Linked DNA regions of Homo sapiens: region 2 is linked to region 1. The links are contacts of gene promoters, found by promoter capture Hi-C in human tissues and cell types (Jung and others, 2019). All regions are on one chromosome and are shown on one strand. The core of a region is centred on a gene start or on the middle of the fragment in contact, and the rest is flanking DNA. Distances in the headings are between cores, read along the strand shown. Region 1 holds the start of SPATA31D1 (SPATA31 subfamily D member 1). Region 2 has its middle 880 kb from the start of LINC01507.

The links. Contacts are between HindIII fragments. The study calls those that stand out against the background at their distance.
Region 2: a contact is called between a fragment that was not itself captured here and the fragment with the promoter of SPATA31D1 in region 1, in 1 of the 25 tissues and cell types used here (dorsolateral prefrontal cortex).

The regions. Positions count from the first base shown.
Region 1 is chr9:81,985,017-81,990,360 of GRCh38, forward strand. It overlaps SPATA31D1 (SPATA31 subfamily D member 1), which reads left to right and starts at 3,756. Exons shown (of 4, transcript NM_001001670.3): 1 at 3,756-3,988; 2 at 4,762-4,807. The coding sequence starts at 3,803. The region is part of intron 1 of LOC105376107 (a long non-coding RNA gene); the gene reads left to right. The HindIII fragment of the contact is 9,723 bases long and covers 241-5,344 here.
Region 2 is chr9:80,700,298-80,706,085 of GRCh38, forward strand. No RefSeq gene overlaps it. Among named protein-coding and RNA genes, the nearest start is that of LINC01507, 880 kb to the left of the region's middle. The HindIII fragment of the contact is 7,480 bases long and covers 1-5,788 here.

The sequences.
Region 1 (5,344 bases), core at 2,506-5,005:
ATTAATCCATATTAGAAAATTGGAGAGAGTGCACATGCAGGGATTTTTTGCTAAAGAGCATGATGTGTCTGAGGAGTTATGACTCACAGTATCTCTGTTCCAGAGATCACTTGGCGATTGTAAATGCTGGAGGCGGGGGAACCTCTCCTCTGCATTTGTATACCTCTTGAGCTGTGTAGAATTAATCGCTCCAACTGCACCAGGAGGTAAATGGCAGAGCCCGTGGCTTACAGATGCTTGTGTCTCCTAGTTTCCAGCAGTAAGTATTTATTAGATGAAAACTCGGCCGAGACTGCATATTAAAGAGAAGAGGAAGGGGCATCTCTTGGCAGATTTTATCCTCAAGGCAGGTTACCTGCTCCTGCATAATTGAAAAGAGACCTGGCCTGGCTTGGAGGCTGTCTTAGCCCTTCAAAAGAGATCAACAAACAGTGGTGGCCAATGGGTGTCAAATAAAGAGCTTTATAGTGTTAAAAGAAACTTCAGACAAATTAAATTTAAAGGAGTTTGAGCAATGAATGACTTGTGAATTGGGCAGACCCCAGAATCAGAGCAGATTCACAGAGACTCCACGGATGCCTCGTGGTTAGAACAAATTTATAGACAAAAAAGGTAAAGTGATGTATAGGAATTGGAAGTGAGGTACAGAAAGAGTGAGATTGGTTACAGCTTGGCGTTTGCCTTATTTGAACACAGTTTGAACATTCAGCAGTCTGTGAGTGGTTGAATTATGGCCGCTGGGATTGGCCAACACTCAGCTGTTGTTACAGGTGCATACTATTGAGTTAGGTTTTCAATTTGTCTGACTATTAAGCTAGGTTACAGTTCATCCCCAAGGACTCAAATATAGAAGTATGGAGTCCTTCTCAAGCCATACTTACTTTGCTTTAACAATAGTTTAAGAAAGACATAAGAAATTAAAAGACAGTTTAGAGGACAGCTGTCATGATAAAGAGTTTAGAAAAGAATGTGTAGGAAGGTGGGTTAGGGGTGGGGGATATTGGAATTATTTAAACTGACAAGAGTCACCCGAATAAAGTGTGACAGGCAGTTGGTATTTGGACATTTGCAGAAGTGATTATGTAGAATATAGAGCAGATGTTCTCAAGTTTTTTTGGATGCCAAGGCACTCGGGAAAAGATCACATTTACATGACCCACAGTGTAGTCAGGTGAGGTTGCTTAAGACTACATTCTGCTCTAAGGCTTTGACACACCTAAGTCTCACTCTGCTACCAAACACTGATGGGATCAGTAGTATCATCCACAATACCAGCAGGATGACTTAATAGTAGAAAGGAGAGCCTCATTGCTCTTATCAGTTTGCAAACCAGGAAGGGACAGCATCCAGTGTGGAATGAAGGTGCTCTCTGTTGGAATAGGGGAAGGACAGGTTGTGTTTTACATTCATATTCATACATACTCAACAAGTTTTGGGGAGAAGCTATACATACTTCTGTGGGAGCTGAGCACACCACAATGAGTAAATATATGTATCATACATCCCATGTTCACTTTGGAATGGGGTTTTAGCACTAAAATGAGGTAGAATTTGGTCCTTTACATCATAAGGTAAACTATGGGACACAAAGGTGGTTTGTATGCAGCCTCTATATGCTGGCAGATACTGGCAATCTGTAATATTAGTAGCTTATCAGAAAAGAATGTTTGTAAGGCCGGTCCTCTGTCCGATCAGAGCTGATAGCTCGTTTGGTTAGAGGCAGTCTATTTATAGAAAGTTAGAAATTTGCCATGCCATCCAGGCCCTGAACCCTTGACCCATAGGTAACTTTGTTTCCTTACCCTTAGGGCCTGTCTTAGTTGATAAAGGGGCATCTATTTTGGTCTTTTAGGTCATAATAGCTTAGCGCACTGTAACCTATCCCTGCTTTAAGGGAGTTGCATACTTGTTACCAAATTGATGTGGAGGGCTGGGACTGTCTGTATTTGAGGGAGAGTTAGAAATGTGGGGTCATAATGACAAATAAGATTGAAATAAAAGGAGGAACTAATTGATTCTGGATTTGAAAATACTGATAGATTTGTCACAGGATGGGTGTGTGGGTGTGTTTGTAAAGAAAAGAACTTTTATCTGAGGCATGTGAGTCCTCTTAAGTTATCAGGCCTAGAGAGACATTAAAATGAGACAGAAATCACAGCCCTATTTCCTCCTTGAGCTATGTATTCATCTCTTGAAACTGCTTGCTATTGCCACATGGAGCTATATAGTAACCCAATAATGCCACACCTGACAGGATAACCCACCCCATATAGCTTAACAATGTATAGCCAATCACTAATCAATGTCGCTTCTGTAAACCAATGAGAATTCCTGATTACAACTTTGTATCAGCCCACTCCTTGACCTCTTTTTTTGACTTTGAAAACCCACTCATAACTGCTGCTAATTGGAGTGTATATTCAGGGGGACTTGCATCTGTGTTCCCAGGTCGCAATCCTCAAGCTTGACCCAAATGAACTGTGTGTTTATAATAATTTGCCTCAACTTCTTCCTTTTAGGTCGATGTGTATGTGTGTTTGTGTAGAGAGTATGTTCCAAAAGTGCTTGAACAGTTTAAACCTCACTAACTTCAGAAAAGTAAGTTCTATAAATTAACCCCCAAGATCCCTTGAAGTTTTAATTATATATATTTATTGTACACTTATTTTTGTTTTATAGATGTTAAATAATGCATTATTAGTGAAACCATGCCCCAGAGAGTTGAAGAAAACAGTGACTAATGAAATAATCAGTTTACAGGATAGGCGATTAAAAAACAACAACAACAATAACTTACTAAAATGCCAAAACTCTCCCTGCTTCTGAGATTAAAAAACTGGCTAAAATGAATTAAAACTATTAAGGCCAACTGGAGTTGGCACAGAACAAGCTGGCTGGCGTCACAGCCCAAATTTCTGCCACGTTTCAACCAACTCCCCACAAATGTGCACATGGAATACATGAGGCAGCGTTAAACAGAACTGTGCATGCGGAGGACTTACAGACCTCCGCTTTCCTTCCACCAATCAACTATTAATTCCAGAGGCCACTCCCTAAACTTTTTCTAATAAAATGACCCCATGAAAGCCAGCACAGGGGACAGGTTTGATCTGGACTCCTGTCTTATTGTTCGTTAATTTACAATAAAAACCTTCTTTTCTCAAAAACCCAAATTGGGCAGTGAGCTTCTTTTCCTTGATAACATTAGTTTTAATCATTTGAGACAGTCACTCTGATTGGAAATAGTAAAAACTGACTTCAAAACAAAAAATGTAATGTTCAACATTCACAAAACGAAGCAAGTATAAAGGAAATTTAAGTTTTATATCTGCATTTATGTAAGGCAGAAACGTTCTGTAGGTAAGATGGATTTGAGGACATATGTGATCCTGAGAGTGGCAATGCCTGGGTACAACAAATATTCCAGGCAGTATTTCAGGCTTTCAAGGCAGTGTGGTTGGTGGGGTCCAAGTTAAGAGCTCCAAACAGTAAAGCGGGACTTGGGTAATGCCTGGTTTACTGTTGGAACAAACCAAAAATTCCACTAAGATAAATATATGACATGAAAAGGGATGGAGTTGGGAAATGGAGTGGCAAGGTAGGGCAGAGGGACCTAGAGGGCCCAGGAGAGTCAGCTGGGCTGGTGGGGTTGGGGCTGTGGACACACCCTCCTCTTGTTGCTCCCTGCACCCTTAGAAACCTTCTGTGACTCTTCCATGCTCTGTGATGCAGGCCTGTGCTTATAGTTAAGCCTGGGCACCCTCAGTGCTCAGTTGCTTCAGGCAGCTGAGCTATTCAGACCATGGAGAATATCCTCTGTTTTCTGAACAGCTATACTGAGACAGGGCTGAGCCCTGACTCACATTGGTTGGATATCGACCCCAACTTCATCTGCTTGAGTGGGTTGGGGTTGTTTATACTGTACTTGTTCTACGTGGTATTGACCCTGTATTCGTCACCCACCGAAAAAAATAATGACATCCAAAAGGTAAGGAACTGTGGGTGAACACCCAAGAGAGATGCCCTGTTGTTGTTTCCCAATCCTATTCCAACATTTCTAAATAAGTTTGGTTGGTACAGAGACATGTTTTAGATGGGAAGTCTGAAGAGAGGATAGAACTTCACTCTTCTATGGAAGAGGTTGGGCAGACATAGGGGTTCAGGAGGACTAAGGTTTCCATCTGAAGCTCATAGTTTTCCATGTGAAGCTACCTATCTGGCTGTGGTGGAGAGTTCCAGGATAAAATCCCAAACACAGTAATTCTGTGGTCCCAGGTGGGATTATTTAGAGATTGTGGGCTCTCTGAAGGAGAACGGTCTCTGCTGAAATTTGATCATGAGTCAGATTCCCATGTCACCTGTCACTTGACCAAGTCTTCCTTCGTGTTGGGCTGACCAGAGGAGTAATGCTGAGAGTCTCTGAGCAGAGGCTGGAGCTATAGGCCTGTCTCCGTGACACTTGTCCCATGAGGGAGCACAGATGTGACTGTTGACCTCTGAGTCTTTGCCCTCCTTCAGAATTGCTAACTGAGTACATCAAGTGTGGCTCTCACAGCAAAATCTTCTTTGAGGATTTTTCAGAGAAGGAAAAATGGGAGCTATTTTATCACCATTAAAAATTGATAACAGGAACATATTTCTATTAATTAAAGAGTAATATTCTTGTATAATGAATGAATGAATGAATGAATGAATGAATGAGCTTCATAGAGAGTGAGAGAAGTGAGTCCCAGCCTGTCATTATCTGTCTTTTGTTCTCAGCATCAGGGCAGAGCCAAGAGGAGAAGGAAAGGTGGGACATTCAAAGGTAATGTCAGCCTGCTCTATCTGAGCTTCAGGGGTGACCCTTTCTGTCTCTTTCATGATGACTCAGTCCCATGATTTCTTAGAATGTCAGTTACTAGATGCAGTCTTAGAAAACAGAGCCCTCAGAAGACAGGCTCATGGGAAAGCAATCAGACCTGAGACACTGCTCAGAGGCCCTGCTCTGCCCATTTACGGGCAGGACAAAGTGATGGACCTGAGCAATGGGTGTTGCCCAATTGGTGGCCAACTGAGATATCCAGGAGGGACTGCTGGTGGGCTTGGAGTCAGAGCTTCTGTCTCACAACTTTGCATACGTACTTTGACTTCCTCAATGCTCGGATTCCTCCTGGAGGTAACCACTGATGTCTGTGTTTCACGTGGTGGTTTTGAGCATCACATGGGGTAATGTATGTGAAAGGACTTTACTAATGATGCCACATACACATGTGAACTTGTGAATATTATCAATGACTATTTTCCCTTTTCTACTGATTCTTGGGGCTCTCAGAGTTTAATATCCCAAGGGTCTTCCACAGAT
Region 2 (5,788 bases), core at 1,082-3,581, 1.3 Mb before region 1:
TTACCTAAACTTGAAACAAGTGAATGAAAAATATCCAAATATCAACTCCAGGAAAATTTTAGTATAGGGAATACAAACCATGTCAAAATGTGCCTTGAGAGTGCAAAAAAAAAATACTCAATAAAGTCTAAGTAGATTATCCTGATGATTACAAGTGTTCACATTTTTAATGTATGCTTATCTCAGCTTGGGTTCCCCAGAAGCAAATCCTGGGATGAGGTTTCGTACAAAAGTGATTTATCAGGAAGTGTTCCCTGGAAAAATTGGTGGGAATATGAGAAAATGGGATGCTGAAGGGAAAGAAAAACAAAAGTGTAATATCAAGCAAAATGCTATAACATAATCAGTTCAATCCTCCAGAGAAATAGAATTGAGATTCAGGCCATGTTTGGGAAGAAAATGATAGGAAAATCCAATAGAGGAGTGATATAAAATAAAAACTATGTTTCCTTATCAGAATAGTTTGTTTCCAGATTTCATTAGATAAGACGATTCTAACAAGTTAAAGTCTTCTGCTTCAGGTATACATAGATATTGTATTATCTCACCAATACCTACTTTATCATCATTAAGCAGGAATTATGCTCTGATGGCAGCTTCCAACTTGGATCATTACTATTAGATAAGAGCAAGATGTCAACAGCATGATAGAATTCCTGAAAACTCATGGTGCCTTGTGTAAGTTTTACAAAGCATCCAAGAAAAAAAAAGTAACATGCAACAAATGAAATTAACATTTCTTATGTTATTCTTCCTTTGTTCCCTGTAGATGTAAAAATCTGGAACCAAAACTCTGAGGAATTTAAGATTAATTCCATAAAAAGCAAGTCTGAGTTCCTACCTTTTTTTTTCTCATATTTCATACAAGAATGGCTGAAGTAAATGTTTCTTCACTTTTTAATAACATCAATGTGCCAAAAATATACTTAAAAATGATTCATTAATTTGTTACATCATACTGTAAGAATTTTTCCTATCTATTTTGTCCAAGGACAAAATGACTAACAAAGCATGATGTTGCACTTACATGCTTCTTGATAGCAACCCAAGCTCCAATTCATTAAATATATTCTGATATTTGATTCTTAATCCAGTATCTTCTTATTTGTTTTATGTCTTCAAAAAGTTGAAAAGAATCCCATTCTTCATCTTCTCCTCATCTTTACTTTAAAATTCAACCTCCACCTGGACATTGACATGAAAATGCCCTTCCCTAGAACCCTTTAAGAACAGCATAAACAGTTTGCCTGAATAACAAAAATAGCAAATGAGTAAGGTAAGGTGGCAGGTGAATTCTGAGAGGACGAAATGTAAGGAGAAATTGACAACATCTAAGATTGGCTAGGATATAAAAGGATTATAGCATGGAGGGAAGAGACATTTGTGGGAACATTATTTTCAGATGGATGCAGCAAAAGTGGGGCTGGGTGATTGTTATGGTTACTTTGTTGTTGGTTTAATAATGTTGCGGCCAAATGTATACAAAAATGGCCATTCTATTTTTAACTTGGGAAACTTACTTATTCTCAAATTATTGGTACCTTCACCCTGTAAGATGGGCTAAAGATATTTACCTTGAAGGGTTTTCGTAAAAACTAATGTGCGCAGAGTGCTTAGCATACCTAAAACATTAGATAAATAGTAGCTTCTGTTTTTATCTTTTGGCTGTGACATAAGTACTAGTGCTTCATTTGATATAATTGTGTTCCTCTTTGCCATTGTCCTATTATGGAATATTGTAAGAACAAGAAAGCTGCCTTATTGATCAAAAAGAATTGCACACTTTAACATTTACATATCAACGTCTATGAAGCAGTTTGTGGCACATATTGAGACCTTAAATTAAGATGATGTTTAAATAGATGGTAATCTAGTAAAATAAGCAGTTAGAAAAATTAGTATCAGTCAACCAAGGTAAGAAATTTTTACTTTGTCACATACTCATCGCATGAGATGTTCCTGCAGGATATGACCATTGTCATCTTCCATAAGCTTATCAATCCAATTGATTAGTTATAGCCCTATTAGGGCACATAATTGTGTCTAGTAGTGTTTTCATAGTTACTCTAGTAAGTAGTCATCCAGATTTCTTCTGCAAGTTGTGGAATTTAACACTGTTTTGTTAATGATTAGTGAAAGTATTATTTTCATGTGAGAAGGATAAAATATTCCAATTTGAAAATGTATCCAAGTAGAATTTATAGTAACATTATAACTTTCTCTTTCTTTTGTCCTATTAGGCAGTTAAGTTCAAGTAACCACAGGGCTTTTGCTCTTAAAGAGATCTGGCTCAGAATGAATACCAGGTTGAAGAGGCTGAGACAGAGCAGACTTGCTGAAGGATTTGGGGGATATTTAGGAATAATGTTAAAAATAAAAAAAGCCTTAGTTGTTGGTGAAGCCAGAGAGACAGGAGAAGAAACATGCTGGTTGTGCCGGGAGTTTAGCTATTCTGTCTCATATAATCCTCACATCTTTCAGAAGATAAAAGGGATACTCAAGCAGTTAAGTAACTTGCCTGGGGTAAACGGTTGTCAGAATTCACTTTCAGCAGTGTCTGACTCCAAAGCCTTGTTTTTCCCTCTGTATCTTTTTCTATACTTCAATTATTAAAAGAATTTCTTATTTTAAAATGTATTTAGCTCCGCATTTTTAGATATGTTTGTATCCCTGGAAACCAAATGACAGAGGGTTTGTCTTCTTGAGGGTACTGTTTTATCCTACAACATCAGTGAAGCACCCTGCTCATATATTACTGTCATAAGTCTCTGGCAGGTATGCCAAGTTATCTTCCTTTTCCTGAAGCATGGAAGGGAAAACAAAAGGTGTTGGCAGGTTAAACAGAGGCAAGAGAGCCAGAAAAGAGAAGGCAACTGTCAGACAGCAGGATAAGACTGGCAAATGAGAAGAATTACATAGCAGGTGAACAGAAAGACTTGAAGGAGCACAAATTGATGCTAATAGAAGTATGGAAAAGCAGGGGTTATTAGACCTTTGATACTTGTTAAAAGTCAAATATATTTTGATTATTTGGTGAAGAAAATTGTAAAACAGCCCTTCAGTGACTGTGAGTGAGAGAATTGTGTTTCACTTCCCTGAGTTCATTGGTTTATATTGATGTATGAGGTCTCTTAACATATTAACACAGGCATTTCACCACTGCACTTTTCTACACTAACTGAGAAAGCCAACTCCATGAATCTCATCTTTTAGCACCATAATGTTTTCTAACCAATCATGTCAAAACTCAATGACTTAAAACAATAAGCAAATCTGTGGGTTAATAGGACAATTTTTCATATCCAACTTTGTGGGAATTGTTCCCATGTTATAGGGGACGGCTGGCTTTTGGCTAATCTGGGATGGCCTTGCATAGAATGACTGCTGTGACTTGGCTCTGTTCCTGTCTTTCCTCCTCAAGCAGCCGTGCTCTTATTTTATATGGGCAAAGTGCAGAAGCAGGTAAATCCCGTATGTACACACTTTCCAAGCCTCCCCTTGGCCATGTTTGTTAACATTCCATTGGTCAAAGAAAATCACCTAGTCAAAGCCAAAGCCACAGCCAGAGTAGTGGGAGGGCTCTACACAGATAGATGGCAAAGACAGGCATTCAGAGGAGAGCAGAGACTCTGAAACGTTGTTGTGACCTACAACATGACATTTGGACACACATTTTAAGTTTCTGCCGAGGCCAAAACAGACTGAAACAGCAGAACACACATATCTAGGAAAACATATGCAAACCAAGAATTTCACCAAATATAAGTCACAATCTGCAAAACCACATTGTTTCTAATAGCAAAAGCAACACAACTGCCTTTGATTTTTTTTCTTAACAGAGAAAGAGATAGGGGATGTGTAGCTCTGACTTTAAAAGTTACTGCATTTACATTTATTGTAGTCACTGATGTATTTCTATCATTATGTATTCTGACTTTTATTTACTGCTATTGTGATTCATTTTATCTTTCTTGATTAACATTTTAATTTTTTTTATTTTTTTCATGTCTGGTTTAGAGGAGATACATTCTATTTAATTTCAAAAACTTCTAGCAAACATGCTTATCTTAATATTTTACCCAATGTAGAATTAAACAAACCACATCCTCCTTCTTAAAGGTCTACCTCAGTATTCTTCAACCACCTCATGAAATCACTCTGTCTTATTATATATTATTTTCTAAAATTTAGTTCAAGTATGTTTTTAAATATTCCAAAGGTTGTTGTTTATAGTTAATATTGCATTATTTATATTTTTGAAACTCCCCTGCTTAAAATGTTTTAATAGTTTCCAGCTGTGTTATAATTATAAATATTTCTTTAAAATTTTTGAAGAGGAAAACATAAATAGGATATAAAAGAAGATGTTATAAAATTCAGAAGGTCTCCTATTCTGCCATAGACTCCAAATCCCCATTTTAGAAGCACACGTTAGCATTTATATATGTTCCTACATATTTTACACAAATATTTGTCTACATACCTATTTGTGTGTTTGTGCGTGTGTGTATGAATATTTTTATTTGATTTATTAACAAAGAGACTATTACATAAAATATACTGTCTTGAATAGCCCTTTTCATAGCTTACTTCACAGTATTACTCTTTGCAAATATTACTTCCTCTTCAAATTATTATTGTAATTTTTTCACATTTAAATGCAGTATATAAAATTCAGCTCATTCTTTTGATTCGCTATTCCATTATAATAATGTACCATAACTTATTTAACAGAGTTTCCTATTAATGGATATTCCATTTGTTTTCCATCTTACACTTAGATGCTGCAATGTATAGTGTCTGTTCCCTGACAATGATAAATCAATCTTTTTGATTTTTGCCGGATTGATGGGTAAAATTGGGAATTTTATAGTTTTAATTTGCAATTTTAATATGAGTCACAGAGTATCTTGTAATATGCCTAAAGCTATCTGCATTTCATTTTTATTTTTAAATAAATTGGCTGTTCATATTATTTCCCCATTTTTATATGGGTTATTGGTCTTATTAACTATATGTGATTACTGACTAATAAAGGATATTAGCTATTTTCTGTAATGTAAAAAACAATATTATTTTTCATTTTACAATTTGCCTTTGGCCTTTGCCTATATATGTTTTATAATATATTTTTTAAAACTTTAAATGGTAAAATTGGTCAATAAAATAGATAATGATTCCTGCATTTTTGAAAATATTTTGAAATGTTTTACCAATTCTAAAATTATTTTTCAATTTCTTGTTTCCTTCTAACAAATTTATAATTTACTTTTTCATATTTAAATATTTGATCTGTATGAATATTTCTTGGCATAAAACCATTGTGATAACACCCTCCCATGTTATCACAATGTATTTATTACATAATCTAATTTTTTCTGCACTGATGTGAAATTGTACTTTCATAATGAATGCATGCACATACACATATACACATATGCGGAATTATGTATGAATTTTCTGTTCTGTTTCATTAATCTGTTATTAGCAAACACCTTAATATCCTAAATGTTCACTTTACCGTTTTCACTTAAGAGAAACCCAAATCTCCCACAAATGCACTTCTTCCCTGGAAGCCTTCTCAAGTAATGACAGATTTTGCCATCATATTTATTAGCCACTTCTAACTCTGCGGGACAGTATTCTCCATGCTCCTTATTGCTACTCACTGTCACCATGCTGACTCATTTCACTTTAAATTCATGACCTCTATCCTTTCATGAGCCATTACTGCAGACTGGGGTTCATACCTGCCTTTTTCTCCTCAAGCCTTCAGTCATTCTTACGT